Linked DNA regions of Homo sapiens: region 2 is linked to region 1. Evidence: promoter capture Hi-C in human tissues and cell types (Jung and others, 2019). All regions are on one chromosome and are shown on one strand. The core of a region is centred on a gene start or on the middle of the fragment in contact, and the rest is flanking DNA. Distances in the headings are between cores, read along the strand shown.

Region 1 (5,738 bases), core at 3,070-5,569:
GTTTTGTTTTTTGAGATGGAGTCTCACCCTGTCACCCAGGCTGGAGTGCAATGGCACGATATTGGCTCAGTGCAACCTCTGCCTCCCAGGTTCAAGCAATTCTGCTTCAGCCTCCCGAGTAGCTGGGATTACAGGCACAGCCACCATGCCCGGCTAATTTTTTGTATCTAGTAGAGACAGGATTTCACCAGGGTTGGCCAGGCTGTTCTCAAACTCCTGACCTCATGATCAGCCCGCCACCCTCTCAAAGTGCTGGGATTACAGGTGTGAGCCACTGCACCTAATCTAATCTTTTATAACTGTCAATCTAATCTTATAACTGTATGTTAGCCTTTGTATGCAAAATGCTGTCATTCTGCTCACGATCTCCATTTTTTGTTGTTGTTGTTGTTGGTTTTTTGTTTGTTTTGTTTGTTTGTTTGTTTTAGACAGAGTCTTGCTCTTTTGCCCAGGCTGGAGTGCAGTGGTGCGATCTCGGAACACTGAAACCTCCACCCCACCCCGCCTCTGCCTCCCAGGTTCAAGCAATTCTTCTGCCTCAGCCTCCCAGGTAGCTGAGATTACAGGTGCTCACCACCACACAGCCAGCTAATTTTTGTATTTTTTTTTTTTTAGTAGAGACAGGGCTTCACTATGTTGACCAGGCTGGTCTCAAACTCGTGACCTCAAACGATCTACCTGCCTTGGCCTCCCAAAGTGCTGGGATTACAGGCATTAGCCACTGCGTTTGACCTCTCCATTTTTACCTGTATAAATGAGTTCCACTTTTCCCCATACTGGAAGCACTGATCACCATTCTTCGGTGTCCTTGTGTCCCTGGACAGCCACCCTCACACACTTGTGTTTAAAAAAACTTTTCTTATTTTTTTCTTGAGATGGAGTCTCGTTCTGTCACCCAGGCTGGAGTGCAGTGGCGTGATCTCAGCTCACTGCAACCTCCACCTCCCAGGTTCAAGCAATTCTCATGCCTCAGCTTCCCGAGTAGCTGGGACTACAGGTGTGCACCACCACACCCAGGTAATTTTTGTATTTTTAGTAGAGACTGGGTTACAGCATGTTAGCCAGGCTGGTCTCGAACTCCCGGTCTCAAGCAATCTGCCTGCCTCAGCTTCCCAAAGTGCTGAGATTACAGGCGTGAACAACTGTGCCCAGATTTATTTTTTAATTTTTCAGAGGCAGGGTCTTTCTCTGTCACTCAGGCTGGAGTGCAGCGTCAGGATCATAGCTGACGCTGGACCTCCTGGGCTCCTCTTGCCTCAGCCTCTCAAGTAGCTGGGACTACAGACATGTGCCACCATGTCTGGCTAATTTTCTTTATTTTTTGTAGAGAGACAAGGTCTTGCTATGTTGCCCAGGCTGGTCTTTAACTTCTGGCTTCAAGCTATGCTCCTGCCTCAGCCTCCTGAGTAGCTGAGATTACAGGTGCATGCCTCCATGCCTGGCCACCACGGCCAATTTCAAGCTACCAATATGAGATCATTGAACATGCAATTGGAAAGAAATGCACAGTATTACATTGTTCTATAGCAAGCCTATTACACAGACATAATAAATGTAAATAGGCCAGGCAAGATGGTTCATACCTGTAATCCCAGCACTTTGGGAGGCTGAGGCAGGAGGATCGCTTTGAGCTCAGGAGTTCGAGGCCAGCCTGGGTAACATAGTGAGACCCCATCTCTACAAAAAAACACAAAATTAACTGAGTGTGGTGACGGGCACCTGTAGTCCCAGCTACTCAGGAGGCCAAGGCAGGAGACTCATTTGAGCCCAGGAGGCGGAGGTTGCAGTGAGCACATACATTGATTGGCACACAGATTGGCAGATACTAACATACAGTGTGTTTTTTTCTCCAGAGAACTGGCTGGTAAGTGTTTACCATAGTAAGAAGACTTACTATAGAACAATGTATTACTGTGCGTTTCTTTCCAATTCCATGTTCAATGATCTCTTATTGGTAGCTTGAAATTGGCCGTGGTGGCCAAGCATGGGGGCGTGCACCAGTAAGGGAAAGCTGAAATGGAAAACAGAGGGTTTAGGGCAACAGTCCTGAATTCCGGAGTGCTGTCCCCCTGGGGGAGTTATGGGAATCTGTGGGGGTTGTTTTTAGTTGTCACAGTGGAGGTCCTAGGATGCTACCACAGCGTTTACGCGGCTGGGGTCAGCGACAATAAAAGTTACGCAATGAAGGTTTGTCCTGCATTCTCAGGACTTTGTTTTATTTTTGAGACAGAGTCTTGCTCTGTCACCCAGGCTGGAGTGCAGTGGTACCATCTCGGCTCACTGCAACCTCTGCCTCCCAGGTTCAAGGAATTCTCCTCCCCTAGCCTCCTGAGTAGCTGGGATTACAGGCGTGCACCACCATGCCCAGCTAATTTTGTATTTTTAGTAGAGATGGAGTTTCACTAAAAAAAAATGTTGGCTAGGCTGGTCTCAAACTCCTGACCTCAGGTGATCCTCCTGCCTCGGCCTCCCAAAGTGCTGGGATTGCAGGCATGAGCCACTGCGCCCAGGTCATTCCCATGACTTTGGAACATCTGTGGGACATTCATGGAGTTGGAAAGTCTAAGCCTCTGAGCCCCAAATCTGTTTTGCGTTTTTTTTTTTTTTTTTTTTTTGAGAGGGAGTCTTGCTCTGTCGCCCAGGCTGGAGTGCAGTGGTGTGACCTCGGCTCACTGCAAGCTCCGCCCCCGGGGTTCACGCCATTCTCCTGCCTCAGCCTCCCAAGTAGCTGGGACTACAGGCACCCACCACCACGCCCGGCTAATTTTTTTTTTATATATATTTTTAGTAGAGACGGGGTTTCACTGTATTAGCCAGGATGGTCTCAATCTCCTGACCTCGTGATCCGCCCGACTCAGCCTCCCAAAGTGCTGGGATTACAGGCGTGAGCCACCACACCTGGCCTGTTTTGCATATTTTATGACAGCTCACCTCCCCACTTCCCCGCCCCACCCTGTTTCTTTTTTCCTTGTCGCTGAATCACAGGGAAACAGGTCGTTTGTCCTGTGGACGGGCTCACATTCTGGACTGGGCTGATTGCTGCCTCATGGTGTCGTTTCACTGGGAACTTTGTCCTCCTGTTTTCTGCAAACTGGTGGTTAGAGTGGGAAGCTTGATCTGATTTTTTTGTTTGTTTGTTTGAAGGGAGCTCCGTAGCTGGTAGGTAGCCTCCTGCTGCTTAGCTGAAGCTGGGGAGTGGCTGCTGGTTTCTCTTTCCTCCTGTTAGGACTGCTGGGAGCTCTGGTGGTGCCTGCCTCTTCTCTCAGTAAAATTCCTCATCCATCTTTTTTTTTTTTGAGACAGAGTTTTGCTCTTGTTTCCCAGGCTGGAGTGCAATGGTGTAATCTCAGTTTACTGCAACCTCCGCCTCCCAAGTTCAAGCGATTCTCCTGCCTCAGCCTCCCAAGTAGCTGGGATTACAGGTGCATGCCACCACGCCCCACTGATTTTTGCATTTTTAGTAGAGACAGGGTTTCACCATGTTGGCCAGACTGGTCTCAAACTCCTGACCTCAGGTGATCCACCTGCCTCGGCCTCCCAAAGTGCTGGGATTACAGGCATGAGCCACTGTGCTGGGCCATGGCTAATTTCTGTATTCTTATAAGGACGGGGTTTCACCTTGTTGGCCAGGCTGGTCTCTGACTCCTGACCTCAGTTGATCCGCCTGCCTCGGCCTCCCAAAGTGCTAGAATTACAGGTGTGAGTCACCACACCGGGCCCATTTGTATTTAAAAATTTTTTTGAAATAGGCAGGGCGAGGTGGCTCACGTCTGTAATCCCAGCACTTTGGGAAGCTGAGGCAGGAGAATCCCTTGAACTTGTGAGGCGGCGGTTGCAGTGAGCTGAGATCACGCCATTGCACTCCAGCCTGGGCAACAAGAGCAAAACTCTCTCAAAAAGTAATACTACTAATAATTAATTAATAAATAAATATAAGACTCTGAGGGGACTCAGAGTCAGCGAGAGCCTGGCCTAGCAGGACTCTGTCCCCCGCCTCCATGCTGCCTTCCTGGAGGCCTTCCTGGCTGCCTGGAGGAGCGGAGCAGAGTGGGGGCCCCTTTCTGTTGGGGCATCACAACAGTTCCCCAAGGAAGACCCTCGGGGACCCGGATGGGGGATGCGACCTTGTCCTGCCTCTCTCCCCCACCCTTATGGCCAGGCTTGGGGTGCCTGGTGCAGGTGGAGGAGCTAAGGGTAGATAACAAGATGGACTTTGTGGCCGGCAATGGGGAGGGAGGAGGGGCTACGGGCTCACCTCCCTCCCGCAGCCCAGCCACACCTGCTCTGGAAAGCCCTGTAGCTCCTGGGCGGGGTTTGCCAGTCACCGATGCTGGAAGGGTTTCTTTGGCCCTGAGTGAAGAGAGACCCAGAGGGAACACTGAGGTGCCTGCCCAACCACTCTGTCCCGGTTTCCTTCAGCAGGACCAGGTGAGAGAAGGTGAGGGGGCTCCTCTCCCACCCTACAACACGCACACCTCTGCACACACGCCCAGGCGGAGAGCAGGGATTTGGGACGTGGACCTGTGTGCCCTCGTGGGTCCCTGGTGCCCTCTGGGAGGCACCCCCAACTCAGGACCTCCAGGAGAGGAGGGTCCCTCCCTCGGCAGCCAGGACCCCCCTCCCCAGCCAGCCGCCCTCCTTAGCTCCCTCCCCACTTCCTTCCAGGTGGATCTGTTTCTAGAGCTCCAACCACCAGCTCCCTCCCCTTCTCCACCCCGGGCCACCAGGTCCTTCCTTGTCTCCTTCCCCTCAGCAGTTTCTATGAACCACCCTGGCAGTAATGGTGCAGATGGCTCGCGCACAGCTGGTGGTGACCCGACTTTCCTGCCTCCACCCTGGGGCTCCTCAGAGGCTTCATGGAACCCAAACTGCTGGTCTCACCTCCGAGCCCTGCCGTCGCCCAGGGAGGGCGGCTCCGTCCCTCCTGCACTCCCTAATCCCGCTCTGAATCACCGCTTCTGTTCTGGGTCGGAGAATAAAGGTGGGGTTTCCAAGTGATGGCCCTACGTTATTGTCTGAAGCTCCCTTCTCCTCCCCAGGGTGGAAGTGATAATGCCGGGAATCCGGGAATCCCGGGGAGGTGCAGGAAGACAGCGAGCTCGAGGCAGTGGGGTGCGACTGAGCCGGATGTGCTGAGCTGCCCGGGGCACGGGGCGGTTGGGGTAGAGAAAGGCTTTCAGAGCTGGGGGACAGGACGGGGCCCCGGGTGAGCGGAGAGCTGGGTTATTTCACGGGAACAGCTGGTGACAAAGCCGGAGGGGTGTGCGGGGCCGGCGAGAGACTGGGATTGTGTCTTAAGAGGCATAGGGAGCCCTGAAGGGGCTGCGAGCTGGGAAGGGGCAGGGCCGGCGCTGGGTGTAGGGGACAGAGGGGAGAGGAGGAAGCCGGGCCGCAATAGAAAGACGTGGACGGGGCTGGACGTGGTGGCTGACGCCTGTAATCCCAGCACTTTGGGAGGCCGAGACAGGCGGATCACTTGAGGTCAGGAGTTCGAGACCAGTCTGGCCAACATGGAGAAACCCCGTCTCTACTAAAAATACAAAATTAGCCAGGCGTGGTGGTGCATGCCTGTAATCCCAGCTACTCGGGAGGCTGAGGCAGGAGAATCGTTTGAACCCGGGAGGCGGAGGTTGTGGTGAGCCGAGATTGTGCCATTGCACTCCAGCCTGGGGAACAAGAGCAAAACTCCGTCTCAAAAAAAAAAAAAAAAAAAAAAATCTCAGTAAGATAGACCAGGT
Region 2 (5,965 bases), core at 2,851-5,350, 270 kb after region 1:
TTGCTCAAGTTCATTGATGACCCTCTGACCCTAGCTCTTTCCTTTTTTTTTTTTTCCCCACTGAGAAGGGGTCTCGCTATGTTGCCCAGGTTGGTCTCGAACTCCTGGCCTCAAGCGATCCTCCCGCCTCAGCCTCTCAAAGTGCTGGGATTACAGGTGTGAGCCACCATGCCTGGCCTGAGTCCAGCTCTTTAATGCCCGTTCATCTCAGTCCCCTGCCCGCAATCCTGCCTTCTGGCCTCCTCCGTCCCTGATCCCGCCTCTGCCTGCCCAGGGGCTGCCCCTGGCCGAGTCACTGAAGCGACTGATGTCCCTGTCTCCAGGACGGCCTCCTCTCCTACTTTGGGACGCCCACGTGGCAGACCGTGACCATCTTTGTGGCGGGAGTGCTCACCGCCTCACTCACCATCTGGAAGAAGATGGGCTGAGGCCCCCAGCTGCCTTGGACTGTGTTTTTCCTCCATAAATTATGGCATTTTTCTGGGAGGGGTGGGGATTGGGGGACGTGGGCATTTTTCTTACTTTTGTAATTATTGGGGGGTGTGGGGAAGAGTGGTCTTGAGGGGGTAATAAACCTCCTTCGGGACACACTTCGGCATCTGAGTCACTGGGCCTCTGCCCCGCTCCCCGGCACGTCAGGAGAGCAGGCCCTGTCCGCTGCCCCACGCCGGGCCCGCCGTCTGCTGGCCTAGAGATACCTGCTTGGGCCACTCAGGGACGTGGGGCTCTCTGCACTCACTTGACATCTTTTTCTGGGGTGCCCTGTGGGGTCTGTGGGTTAGGGATGAGTTGGTCCTGGGCCTGACCTGCAGGAGCTCACGGGAAAGGAAAAGAAGGGAGCTCACGGGAAAGGAAAAGGGAGCTCACGGGAAACGAGGGTGATAGGTGGTACATCTGTCGCAGCCCAGGATGATCTGTGCGGGACAGAGGCAGCGGCCTGTGAGGCCCAAGCAGGCGTGTGGGTAAGGGAAGAACAGCACGGCCGGCTGCAGAGCAAGCCTCCTCGGCCCGGGGACCACAGCCTGGCGTGTCACACGTGGGACCTCAGGAGGCCATACCTTTACCGAGCTGGAGAATGGGAGTGGGGGGAGGAGGGATGGGAGGACCAGAGGAGCAGGAAGGGCTCTGGAGCCTGGTGGTGAGGTCGCTGGAGGGTGGCAGGCTGAGGACACCAGGGCGAGGGCCCACGGGAGAGGCCTCCTGAGCTGGGCTGAGGACAGAGAGGAAGGGACCTGGCTGGCGACTGAGAGGCTGGAGGGCAGGGCAGAGGAGGAGGAACCTGGTCTGGCCCCACAGCTGGGTGGGGCCCCCCTGGAGAGGAACTGCCGGAAGAAGGTGCTGAGCTCAGAGGCCCAGTGACCTTAGACACAGGCGGAGCGAAGACAAGGGGGCTAGAGGATGTGGGTTCTCAGTCACAGGGTCTCTGGCACCCCCCTCTGGGTCTTTACCCCCTCCCATCTCTGGGTCTCTGTCCCCATGCTCTGGGTCTTTGCTTTCCGAGCCTCTGTTCCCACCCCACCTTTGGCCCTCTTTCTCTGGGCCTCTTTCCACCCCTGGCACCCAGACCTCTGGCCCCCTCTCTCTGGGTCTCTGTCCCCCCCTCTGGATCTCTGGCCCCCCATCTCTCTCTGGGTCTGTCCCCCGACCCTGAGTTTCTGTCTCCCTCTCTCTGGGTCTCTGTCCTCTCTCTGGCTGTCACTCTCTCTTGGGTCTCTGTACCTCCCCTCTCTCTGGGTCTCTTTCCCTCTCCCCGGTCTCTGTCCCCCGCCCCCGGGTCCCTGTCCCCGCCCCCCCAGGTCTCAGTCCTCCCTAGTCTCTGTCCCCTTCTCTCTGAGTCCCTGTCCCCCCTCTCTCTGGGTCTCTGTACCCCCTTCTCTGGATCTCTGTCCCCACCTCTCTCTGGATCTCTGTCCCCCACTCTGGATTTCTGTCCCCTCCCGCCGGGTCCCTCTGGGTCTCTATCCCCCCCACCCCTGGGTCTCTGTACCTCCCTGCCTCTGTCCCCCCCCACCTCTGTCCCCCCCTCTCTCTGGGTCTCTTTTCCCCTCCCTCTGGGTCTCTGCCCTCCTCTCTCTAGGTCTGTCCCCCTCCCCTCTCTCTCAGGGTCTCTGTACCCCTCTGTCTCCGGGTCTGTTTTCCCCTCTCTCTGGGTCTCTGTCCCCCTCTCTCTCAGGGTCTCTGTCTGAGTCTCTTTTTCTCTGGGCCTCTGTCTCCCCACCCCACGTTCTCTATGGTCTTCAGATCCTGTCTCTCTCAGCCCCTCCTCTCCCTCCACCTATGGGCCCCAAGGCCCCTCTCGGCCGACTAAAGGTCTCTGGGCTGAGGTATGACATTTGGTAAATGAGTAACTCGGGCCCCACAGTCAACGGGGTGCTTTGGACGGCTGCCCCTCCTCCATGGACTCTTCCCAGAGACCCCAAGTCAGGGGAGAGAGAGGGGCAGAGGATCAATGAGTGTACACTGAGCCACCACCCAGAGTGAGGGGACAATATGGCCACAGGCAGGATCCCAGAAAAAAAAAAATTATGGGAACCAAAAAGACACGGAGACAAAGCACACAGCCGGCTTCCAACAAGGGGGGACCTTGGGGTAGGGGGCCCGATTTGGGTCTGAGCCAGGTCTAGTTCTGAGGGTCCCACCAAAAAAGTCGGGGAGTGCCAAGGGGATGAGGTCAGCGAGTGGCCCCACCCCCATCCGTCCCCGCGGGGGCCCCTTCCCGCGCTGAGCTCAGCATGACTCAGCAGTCGCTGCCTGCAACAAGGACCCCAGATACCGGCCTGGCGGGGCATCTGCAGATCCCCTCGGTCAGGGGCTGCCCCGCCTGGGCTGTTCGGAGCAGCTCCTCTGTAGGGCAGGGCCTGACCTCACCCCACACCCCAGTGGCTTCAGCTCCCTGCCCAGCGCACGGGCTGCCTCCATCAGGGCACTTAAGTAGAGTCAAGGTTTGCGCCGACTCCGTCTCCCAGAAATCAACGTGGACCAGGCCCACTTAAAAAATATGCATTAGTCGAAGACAGACGTCTCGTCCATAGGTCCCCAGACTGTTTGTCCACAACGCAGGGCTTCTCTTTGTGGGCCTGAAGGAGCACACGTCAGGCAAGACACGAGGGCAACTTCAGAGACACTGTTCAGGGCCACGGAGAATTCTCGAAGTCTGTGAGTTGTCTCCAAAACAGCCTCCAGGAAATGCAATCCCAGAGACACCGCAAAGCTCAAAACAGACTTTTCATTCCTCCCCATTTCCACTCCCAGAAAAAGCCTGGGCCCCTGAAAGAGCTCCAAGGTATCCCCAAAGTCCCAGCCCATCTTTGGAGGGTTCCAGAGGGCTGTCCAGGGTTCCAGAAGTCACCCTACCTCATACAATGCTCCTCCTGGGCTTCCCGCACTGGGTGAAACCCACGGCTCCAGAATAACTGCCCTTTCCAACTTGCAGAGCACCTCAAGAACCTAAAGATTTCCCCGGGGAGGGCTCCAAAATATAGAGAGTTTGCATCGTGAACCCCCACCCCTGTAAATCCCAGGACTCCAGTCCCCGCAACACTCCATCTTCCAGAGATCTCCAGGGGTCCAGAAATAACACCTCACAGCCTTCCAAGCTTCCCAAGGATCCGGAGACTCCTTATCTCGCAGCGCAAACCTCAGGCAACTACAGGTCCTCCCTGCACCTTTGAGGTGCCCCTCCCCCCACTCAAGGTTCCAGAAAAATCCATGCCCTCGGAAACCCCAGAATCTTACTTTCCCGAGGCACCCCAGGACCCCAGGGTCATCAGTTCACAGGGCTGTTAGTGCTCCCATAAAACTCTAGCCTCCCAGAGGGACCCCAGCCCCCACCCTCCCGCCCACGAACCCCTGCATTTCCAGAATCAGCCCCAGGGCCCCAACCCCCCCAAGCCCCCATTTCACAACACGCTGGCGCTACAGGCGCGTGACTTCCCCTTGCTTTGGGGCGGGGGGCTGAGACTCCTATGTGCTCCGGATTGGTCAGGCACGGCCTTCGGCCCCGCCTCCTGCCACCGCAGATTGGCCGCTAGCCCTCCCCGAGCGCCCTGCCTCCGAGGGCCGGCGCACCATAAAAGAAGCCGCCCTAGCCACGTCCCCTCGCAGTTCGGCGGTCCCGCGGGTCTGTCTCTTGCTTCAACAGTGTTTGGACGGAACAGATCCGGGGACTCTCTTCCAGCCTCCGACCGCCCTCCGATTTCCTCTCCGCTTGCAACCTCCGGGACCATCTTCTCGGCCATCTCCTGCTTCTGGGACCTGCCAGCACCGTTTTTGTGGTTAGCTCCTTCTTGCCAACCAACCATGAGCTCCCAGATTCGTCAGAATTATTCCACCGACGTGGAGGCAGCCGTCAACAGCCTGGTCAATTTGTACCTGCAGGCCTCCTACACCTACCTCTCTCTGGTGAGTCCCCAGGACGCCCCTGGCCCTAATTTCCTCCAGCTGCGCACCTCCGGCCCTCACTGCACGCGCCAGCCTTCTTTGTGCGGTCGGGTAAACAGAGGGCGGAGTCCCCTTGGCCTCGCCTCCCGCTAACCATTGTTGCCTCCATCTCTTCCCGTAGGGCTTCTATTTCGACCGCGATGATGTGGCTCTGGAAGGCGTGAGCCACTTCTTCCGCGAATTGGCCGAGGAGAAGCGCGAGGGCTACGAGCGTCTCCTGAAGATGCAAAACCAGCGTGGCGGCCGCGCTCTCTTCCAGGACATCAAGGTAACTAGTGTGTGGGTAATGGACTACATCTCCCAGCAGGCCGTGCGCGCGAGGAGCCTTGATTTGAGGGCGTAGGTGTCGCGTGGGCTTCTGGGAGATTGAGTTCGGTCTTGTGAGCCCTCTTAACCGCTGGAAATAGAGGCGCACCTCGTGCAGTGCCCACAACACGCGGCAGTCCACACCGCTGCGTGGTCTTAGGGACGTATAGCTGTAAGAGCTAGGACAGGGTGCGGAGAGTGATAAATACAAGCTGTCACATGTCTTTGTGGCCTGGGCCTCTGACCCCCAACGACTCTTGGGAAATGTAGGTTTAGTTCTATGTGCCGAGTGTGTGTATTCTGAGCCATTTCTCCCTTCTATATAGAAGCCAGCTGAAGATGAGTGGGGTAAAACCCCAGACGCCATGAAAGCTGCCATGGCCCTGGAGAAAAAGCTGAACCAGGCCCTTTTGGATCTTCATGCCCTGGGTTCTGCCCGCACGGACCCCCATGTACGTACCCGCTGCATCCATGGCTACCCAACCATACCCCTCAAGCCTCTGCTCCCTTTGGGCAAATTTCCTTCAGAGCCTCATTTCACACCTGTCACATTTTAATCTGCAACTGGCTGCTCTCTCCCCCTCTTTTCCAGGGATTGGGTTTCTAATTTCTCCCTCTTCTCTCTCAGCTCTGTGACTTCCTGGAGACTCACTTCCTAGATGAGGAAGTGAAGCTTATCAAGAAGATGGGTGACCACCTGACCAACCTCCACAGGCTGGGTGGCCCGGAGGCTGGGCTGGGCGAGTATCTCTTCGAAAGGCTCACTCTCAAGCACGACTAAGAGCCTTCTGAGCCCAGCGACTTCTGAAGGGCCCCTTGCAAAGTAATAGGGCTTCTGCCTAAGCCTCTCCCTCCAGCCAATAGGCAGCTTTCTTAACTATCCTAACAAGCCTTGGACCAAATGGAAATAAAGCTTTTTGATGCAGCTGGTGGTTTTGTGTGTGGTGTGGAAGATGAGGTGGGATCTGTTCTCATAAAGCTTCTGGCTGGGTTGGGATGCCAGTGAAAGAGGAGTTGGCCCCATCTCCCATTTTCTTAACTGTCCTAAGACAAGAGGCTATCTGGGTAGTGTTGAACCTGAGGGTTCTCTGCTTGCCTGGCTGTTAACTGTCCCTCCCAGATGGTAGAGATAGACTCCAGGGAGTTGAATTAAGACCTAGGTTGGTATCTAGAAACAGATGTTAGGTCTCAGCCAGAAACAGCCCTATTTAACGAGTGA

The links. Contacts are between HindIII fragments. The study calls those that stand out against the background at their distance.
Region 2: a contact is called between the fragment with the promoter of FTL here and the fragment with the promoter of FUT2 in region 1, in 5 of the 25 tissues and cell types used here (IMR-90 fibroblasts, dorsolateral prefrontal cortex, heart right ventricle and 2 more).

What each region holds. Positions count from the first base shown.
Region 1 is chr19:48,691,652-48,697,389 of GRCh38, forward strand. It overlaps FUT2 (fucosyltransferase 2 (H blood group)), which reads left to right and starts at 4,320. Exons shown (of 2, transcript NM_000511.6): 1 at 4,320-4,438. RefSeq lists enhancers at 3,591-4,154, 4,719-5,282. The HindIII fragment of the contact is 31,324 bases long and covers 1-5,738 here.
Region 2 is chr19:48,961,209-48,967,173 of GRCh38, forward strand. FTL (ferritin light chain) reads left to right here and starts at 4,101. Exons shown (of 4, transcript NM_000146.4): 1 at 4,101-4,401; 2 at 4,562-4,708; 3 at 5,073-5,198; 4 at 5,375-5,671. The coding sequence starts at 4,300. The coding sequence ends at 5,527. It overlaps BAX (BCL2 associated X, apoptosis regulator), which reads left to right. Exons shown (of 6, transcript NM_138761.4): 6 at 324-590. The coding sequence ends at 428. RefSeq lists silencers at 991-1,160, 3,931-4,090, cis regulatory regions at 1,040-1,560, 2,500-3,000 and enhancers at 2,682-2,791, 4,341-4,390. The HindIII fragment of the contact is 5,012 bases long and covers 1,159-5,965 here.